3 separate regions of the Homo sapiens genome follow, and all the other regions are linked to region 1. Evidence: promoter capture Hi-C in human tissues and cell types (Jung and others, 2019). All regions are on one chromosome and are shown on one strand. The core of a region is centred on a gene start or on the middle of the fragment in contact, and the rest is flanking DNA. Distances in the headings are between cores, read along the strand shown.

The links. The method cuts DNA at HindIII sites, captures the fragments that hold promoters and counts their contacts. A contact is called where the count stands out against the background at its distance.
Region 2: a contact is called between a fragment that was not itself captured here and the fragment with the promoter of LFNG in region 1, in 1 of the 25 tissues and cell types used here (dorsolateral prefrontal cortex).
Region 3: a fragment that was not itself captured here is called in contact with the fragment with the promoter of LFNG in region 1 in 2 of the 25 tissues and cell types used here (IMR-90 fibroblasts and spleen).

The regions. Positions count from the first base shown.
Region 1 is chr7:2,518,524-2,521,065 of GRCh38, reverse strand. LFNG (LFNG O-fucosylpeptide 3-beta-N-acetylglucosaminyltransferase) reads right to left here and starts at 1,292. Exons shown (of 8, transcript NM_001040167.2): 1 at 773-1,292. The coding sequence starts at 1,204. RefSeq lists silencers at 1,117-1,226, 1,237-1,766. The HindIII fragment of the contact is 23,923 bases long and covers 1-2,542 here.
Region 2 is chr7:2,737,030-2,739,571 of GRCh38, reverse strand. The region is part of intron 2 of GNA12 (G protein subunit alpha 12); the gene reads left to right. It also overlaps a transcript of AMZ1 not described here. Among named protein-coding and RNA genes, the nearest start is that of AMZ1, 50 kb to the right of the region's middle. The HindIII fragment of the contact is 6,430 bases long and covers 1-2,542 here.
Region 3 is chr7:2,718,702-2,721,243 of GRCh38, reverse strand. It overlaps AMZ1 (archaelysin family metallopeptidase 1), which reads right to left. Exons shown (of 7, transcript NM_001384743.1): 7 at 1,561-2,542. Among named protein-coding and RNA genes, the nearest start is that of AMZ1, 32 kb to the right of the region's middle. The HindIII fragment of the contact is 7,405 bases long and covers 1-2,542 here.

The sequences.
Region 1 (2,542 bases), core at 43-2,542:
TGCATCTCCCAGCCCAGAGACACCCCCCCAGTCCCCGACTGCAAGCCCCACACACTGTCCCCATCCCGCCCCAGCCCAACCGTCCTGCTGTGGCCTCGAGGGAAATGTTCAAAGTGGGGTGTGTCTTAATTATGTGTGTGTAAGAAGCTGATGCCCAACTGAAGTGGGCTGTGCCCAAGGTTGCAGGCCTCAGAGACTACTGCACTGTGCGGGGAGGGTCCCCACACAGACCCCAAAACCTGGAGTTCTTTGAGATGTACTCCCCAGGACCCACCAACCAGCAATGACTTCCCTCCCTCCCCGTACCTTAACACTGTGATGAGGAAAGGGCCCAGAGGTCAGAACCCCTCACTTCTCTAAAGGAAGAGCCTTTCTCCCCAGGAAGGGGTCTGAGCTGAGGGTGGGTCCGAACAGAATTTGCTTGTGGAAGTTTGAGGACATAATGCCCTATGAATGCGCTCCAATGTTTACGGGGTGAGAAGTATCACAGGGCACCAACCCCAAGCACTGGAGACTGGTGTAGGGTCCTGCAGCCATCCAGGACTCTGGAGCTGGACAGGAGGCGGGGCCCCGGGGACAGTAACACAACTGTAACGGGAGAGTGGCCCCAGCAGGCAAACTGGGTGCACCGGGGTGCACTGGCGTCGCCCACAGATGGCCCTAGTGGCTGGATGGGGATGCAGCCTGACTCCCATGGGACACTGCCACCAGCTGGACCAGATGGTGGGTCCCCGCCCCGCTCGCCCGCCAGTCCAGGCCGCGGGGGGCTCACCATCTCCTTGTGGCGCGAGATCCAGGTCTCCAGCAGCAGGTCGAGGCGCGCGCGGTGGAACTTTTTGGTGGTCTTGACAGCGATGAAGACGTCTCGGGGCGCGAGCGGCTCGGCCAGGGGGCGCGGGTGGCCGTCGGCGGGGCGGGGGGCAGCCCCGGGCGGCGGGCCCGCATCTCTGCGCGCGCGGGTGAGCAGGCTGAAGTACTCGGACAGACTGTGCACGTCGCGGACCAGCGCCCCGGGCGCCGCCGCCGCCGCCCCCAGCCCGGGCGCCGGGGCAGCCCCCGCGGGGCCCGCCAGGCTGCGCAGCGCGCGCCGGCCGCGCTCGGCGGGCAGTGGAGGCGGCGGCGGGTCGGCGGTGAGCACCAGCAGGCAGGCGAGCAGCGCGCCCGCCAGCGCCAGCAGCAGGCGCCGGCCGCAGCGCTTGAGCATGGTGGGGTGGCGGCCGCGCGGCGCGCCCTTCCCCGTGCGCCTGCCTTGCACCGACCCGAAGCCCGTCGCTCCGGCGGCGCAGTCCAGCAGCGCAGCACCAGTGTCCCGCGCTCTTAAACCTCCCCGCCCCGGTCCCGCCCCCGTGCGCTCATTGGCTCCCGGGCTCGGGGGCGGGGCCTCGCGCCGGTCGCCGCTCCACGCCCGCAGACCCACGTGGGGCCGCGGCTGGGGGCTGGGAACTGCCCAGAGGGCGCAGCGGCCCCGCCCCCGGCGCGCACGTGCACGCCCCGCACCCCCCCCGCCCCGGGTAGCCCCTGCGGGCCGCCGAGGGGCTTGGGGACGGGCCCGGCCCGCGCCGGTGTCCCTGAAGAGGAAACCCAGCCTGGCCAGCGCCGTCCGGGGATGCACCGGGCGTCCCGGCACGGGAGGGGCGCGCCCTCGGCGCAGCGGGCAGGGTGCTGAGACCCGGGCTCTGGGCTCCGACGCACCGCGGGGGACATCCTACTTCCTCGCTGTGCGCTTCCCCTCCTGAGCACGGCTTCCTCCCCTTGGGACGCGGCAGGCCTTGCAAACTGGGGTGGCGCCTGGGTCTTCCCGAGCGCTCGGTTCAGGGGAGCCGTTATTTGTACAGAGCAAGAGCTTGGCCACCTGTGCCGCAGGTGGGGACACGAGGTTCTAACGAGAAAGCACCAGAACCAAATTCCACTCCTTCCTCCCTGGCTGATTTCCTCGATCCTGGCCCTCCGTCGGGAGGGTTGGCTCCCCGAAATCCTCAGGCGCCCCATGGCGAGGAGAAACGAAGGCCGCCACTTCCCTCGCCGGATGAAAGGCCGCCTTCTGTCCCATTTGGTCTCCTTGCGCTCGGGCCAGATGCGGCCCAGCTGTGCGCCCTCCCCACCCCGCCTCCCCGGCACACGGCCCCCATCCCCGGCCCTTCCCACGGGCCCGGGCCCGCCCCTCGCACGAGCGGGGGCGGCAGGAATGCGCGCCGGCAGCCGAGGGTGAGGGGCGAGGGGCCCGGAAGTGGCCAAGGGTCGCCTGAGCAGGGTGTGAGCCCCCTGCCCGCCACGTCCTCCGGAAGCGTGGACGGAGGCGGCTCTGCCCGTGGCTGCGCTGTCTTCCCGTGCCCTCCTAAGCAGGGTCTCTGCGACCACCACGACCACCACCGCCACCACCGTGGCTAAACTGCCCCCCTCGGAGTTATGTTCACGCCTGAGATGGCATTTTAAATTCTTTAAGTGCCCTTGGAGCCCCTCTCCTTACCTCTACCTGAATGTCAGCCGCAAGACAGCAGCGACCTGGTGTCATTCAGACCTGGAACAGGTTTTGGGACATAGT
Region 2 (2,542 bases), core at 24-2,523, 220 kb before region 1:
GCCAAAAACTGGAAACAAAGTGTTCATCAACTGACAAATGGAAAAACAAACCACATATCCATACAATGGCATGTAATATACATATATATATATTGGCCGTAAAATGGAATGTTGCACTGGCCTGTGCCACAGCATGGGCGAGCCTCGGAAATGCCGCACCAAGTAAAAGAACCAGACACAAAGGGCTGCATGCTGTGTGAATGCGCTCCAATGAGAGATCCAGAACCGGCAAATCCATGGAGACAGAAAGCAGATTCGTGTTGTCAGGGTCTGGGCCAGGGCAGTGGGAGTGGCGGCTGATAGGCTGTAGAAGTGGTGGCCGTACAACATTTTGAAGGTAGTAAATGCCATTGAATGGTTCATGTCAAAATGGTGAATTTTCTATTATGTAGATCTTACCTAATGAAAACATAAAGGAAGAACCCAGGCAAGGGGGCTGGTGCTTTAGGGGCCCGGCGTGGCACCCCTGTGACAGCAACCCTGCACACGCCGAGGACACACCCTGCGGAGCCTGAGCTTACAGTTGTAGAGGCTGCTCCACGGCCAAGGACCCTGTGCAGCTCTTCCTGGGGTCTCACTGCTGTGACCAAGGGGTGGCTGTGTGCCAGGCTTGGAGACGAGGTGTCCACAGGCACAGCCACGAGGCTACACACAGGGCAAGGGGGCCAAAGCGTGGCCAGAGTCAGGGGCCAGCTCCTCTGTACTTTCACATTCTGGCAAAAAACAAAAAAACAAACAAAATAAAAAACAGGAGGAGGCCAGAATTCTAGGTTCCGCCTCTAACCTTATTGTCCTATTGGGTTCATTTGCTTTAATTTGGGTTCAATTTTGAGGGGTTGGTTTTTTATTTAATTTTTTTTTAATTATGGAAGATGTTAGCATGGTTCCAAAGTCAGACATACTCAGAGAGGGCTACTCCTGTCTCTGTCCCATCCCCCATTCCCTCCCTCCCTAGAAGTCATTTTTATCTGCTGCTGGTGTATCCACGTTTCCTTTTCCAAATATAAGCAAGCAGAATATGGGTTTTAGTCTCCCGCCATTTCTTACATAAAAGGAAGATACTCTGCGTTGTTTCGTGCCTTGTGCTTTTCCTTTGGCAGTGGGTATCGGAAACCTCCTTCCAGCCACGGAGCTCTTCTCCTTCGCCGGTGCGTAGCCCCTGACTGCGTGGAGATCACAGTTTCCTCAAGCAGCTTCTCCTACTAGACGTTTCCTGCAGTGACAGCTTGTGCCTGCGTCACTTTGTATTTCTGCCAGTGAATCTGTTACCTAATTTTTTTTTTTTTTTAGATGGAGCCTCACTCTGTTTTTGTATTTTTAGTACAGACAGGGTTTCACCATGTTGGCCAGGCTTGTCTCGAACTCCTGACCTCAAGTGATTGCCTCGGCCTCCCAACGTGCTGAGGTTACTGTGAGCCACCACGCCTGGTCCTCTTACCTAATATTTGGGGATGATAAATTAGCAACAAACAATTCATAGGTACCCAAATTAAAACTTGAAAAGCTTCCTTTTTCTAATGTATATGAATGTGGTGTTGTATCTCTTTTCCAGAATACTTTCACAGCTGTGGTATCATTTAATCTCACGCCAGCCCTGTGAGATGTCACAGGCGTTCACTGAGCAAAGCCTGAGTTCAAAATGAGGATTTCTTTTGGGGAACTAGATACTGTTTTTAAAAGTATTTTGAAAGATTCTCTGTTGTTTGGCTAGCGTCTCTATTCAGTGGAAATCAAATGCTAACTTTAATATTTATTTATTAAGTAATGAAATTGAAAACCTGGGCCTTTGGCATAGTTTGCTGTTACTTTTCATACACAGCAGTTTTAAAATTTGTCTTTGTAATTTGTCACGTTGAAGTGAGTGAACTAGATTTTGGAATCCTCTAGCTCACCATTAACAAGCCCTGTTTTCGGTCACAGTGTGAATGACCCCGCTTTAGGATTTTAGAGTTAACCTCACTAAGTGCAGAAACTGTAAGACAGGGCCGGGCGCTGTGGCTCACGCCTGTAATCCCAGCACTCTGGGAGGCTGAGGTGGGTGGATTACCTGAGGTCAGGAGTTCGAGACCAGCCTGGTTAACCTGGTGAAACCCCGTCTCTACTAAAAATACAAAAGTTAGCCGGGTGTGGTAGTGCACGCCTGTAGTCCCAACTACTCTGTAGGCTGAGGCAGGAGAATTGCTTGAACCCAGGAGGCAGAGGTTGCAGTGAGCCAAGATCACACCACTGCACTCCAGCCGGGGCGACAGGGCGAGACTCCATCTCAAAAAAAAAAAAAAAAACAAAAAAAAAAAAAACAAAACAAAACTGTGAGATAGCTCCTGAATGGGCAGATAGGGTTTAAAATTAAAAGGCCCTCTGGCCAGGAGCTGGAAGTTGGTGTTTGTTTTCTTTGTAACCACTCTCTGGTCCTTGATCTGTCCCTACTTAGACGCTTACATCTGAGACCAATCCACGGTTACCTTTTCCTCTCACTCCCCAGTGGGACCCACACATGGGCTGTCTTTAATGCACACCCTGTCAGTCTGTGACATTGACAGGC
Region 3 (2,542 bases), core at 25-2,524, 200 kb before region 1:
GCCTTAGTCCCTGTGCTTCCACTCCTGAGCTCCACCCTCCCCTGGCCTTTCCATCCCTCCCAGGCACAGGCGTCCTGGGTTGCTCTTCCTCCCGGCATTGGCAGGAACCTCCCGCGCCACCCAGTGTGTCTTCAATAGAGTCGGTCGTTTTGCAGCTGCTGGTCGCCACCACCAGACCTGTGGGCGTAAGGCAGGCAGCCAGCGATGACAGCCCGCAGGGTCACACAGGAAACATGCTGTGACATTCGTATAAACAGAAATAACGGGCTGGGCGTGGTGACTCACACCTGTAATCCAGGCACTTCGTGAGCCCGAGGCAGTAGGATTGCCTGAGCCCAGGAGTTCAAAACCAGCCTGGGCAACGTGGCTGAAACCCTGTCTCTACCAAAAACAAGTTTTTAGTTAGCTCAGTGTAGAGATACACACCTGTAGTCCAGCTACTTAGGAGGCTGAGGCAGGAGAGTCGCTTGAGCCCAGGCATTTGAGATAAGCCTGGGCAACATAGCAAGACCCCTGTATCTAAAATAATTTTTTTTTTTTAAAGGCTGGGCGCAGTGGCTCACACCTATAATCCCAGCATTTTGGGAGACTTCGGTGTTTCACTTGAGGTCAGGAGTTCAAGACCAGCCTGGCCAGCACGGTAAAACCCCGTCTCTACTAAAAAATACAAAAATTAGCCAGGCTTGGTGGCAGGCGCCTGTAGTCCCAGCTACTTGGGAGGCTGAGACAGGAGAATCGTTTGAACCCAGAAGGCGGAGGTTGCAGTGAGCCAAGATCGCACCACTGGACTCCAGCCTGGGCAACACAGACTCTGTCTCAATAAATAAAAATTCAAAAAAATAATGATCCCCTCCAGCCCCCAAAACACACACTAGTCTTTCTCTTTTTGTCACAGCGCATAAAAAGTGTTCACCCTGACGTGGGGAGACATGGAAACGGGGAGTGAACATTTGTGAAGTGACTCTTCATTTGACAGGTGTTTTAAAAGCCTCCAGCAGTGACTAAGTGTTTGTGGATGGGCGTCCGCGTGGGTAGATGAACCGGTCCATGTCAGCAGAGGAGCCGAGTCTCAGAGGGGAGCCGCGCTTTGCACGGAAAGCTCTGCAGCAGTGCGTGGCAGCCCTGTCGGTAGGTTCCCGTCGGCTCCTTGCCTTCTCAAATGCAAGGAATTGCTTATCGAATTCAACAGACACATTCTCTTTTCATTTAGCCTTCCAGAATTTCATCCTCTTCGTTTAAGCCCTTTTTAAAATTTGGAGTTGAGGCTGGGCACGGTGGCTGACGCCTGTAATCCTGGCACTTTGGGAGGCCAAGGCGGGTGGATCACGAGGTCAGGAGTTTGAGACCAGCCTGGCCAAGGTGATGAAACCCCATTTCTACTAAAAATACAAAAATTAGCCGGGCATGGTGTGGCAGGCACCTGTAATCCCATCTACGTGGGAGGCTGAGGCAGGAGAATCGCTTGAAACTGGAAGGCAGAGGTTGCAGTGAGCCAAGATCACACCATTGCACTCCAGGCTGGGCAACAAGAGCGAAACTCCATCTCAAAAAAAAAAAAAATTGGGGTTGATAGCATTTATTAATTTTGAGAATGAAAATGTAAGATGTAAGCATTATAGAAAAGCTGAGTAACAATTTATTTTGTATATCAAAGTCGTCCATCAGTCATTGCAGTATAAAATGTTCCAGGTGTATTTCCACTTGGACTGGATTTTTAAAAATAACTGTGCCATACAATCGAGCGGTGATCAAAGCTCATGTAATTAGGGCTAAGTCGTTCCCGTTGGGAGAGGCTATTGTGGGACTTGTGCGTCGGGCCAAGGGATGCTCTGGGCTCTGCTGTTGGAGCAGAGGAGGGAGCTCTGCCAGGCGCGCGGGCCTTTGCCCTCTTTAGGCATTGCTCCTGCTTGGGGGTCCGTGACAGACATCAGGTTATGCCATCAAGAGCCCCACGTGAAACAACTGCCTCCAAGTGGTGCAGGCGGGAGAGGCGGCCGGAGGATGGCAGGAATAAAGAGACACCCCCCTTCCGACAGGGGCCACCTGCCGTTCTGTCGGAGGAGTTGGGTTGGCAGCCGACAAAGCTGCTGCCCGCATCCTGCCCATCCAGTAAAGGCCTCGAGCCCTCACAAGGGGGCGCCCAAGAGGACGGCCACCACCCACCCAGAAGGGCACAGGTAGAATGTGGTAGAAGTTTGATCTCACTTCAGATGGGGGGGAAAAAAAAAAAAAAAAGTCGCCTGTTCTTGCAGCTTCCCTCCCTCTTTCCTTCCTGCTCATACATTTGGAATAAATGGCCGGAGCTCTCCTGTACCCCTGCCTGTGTTAAGCGACCCTGAGAAAAGCGTGTTCTCTGCCTCTTCCAACCCACTCCGTTTCCCGTGGTTTCTGTGACTCCCCTGTTCCCAGAGGCCTACCCCAGGTGGGCAGAGCACAGGGAGAGGAAGTCCCTGAGAGCCGGACGCAGCTCGGCCCTGGCCTGCCCGCTTCTCCCTGACCACAAGACCAAGCCCGGCTGCACAAGCCCTGTCCTGTTAGAAGG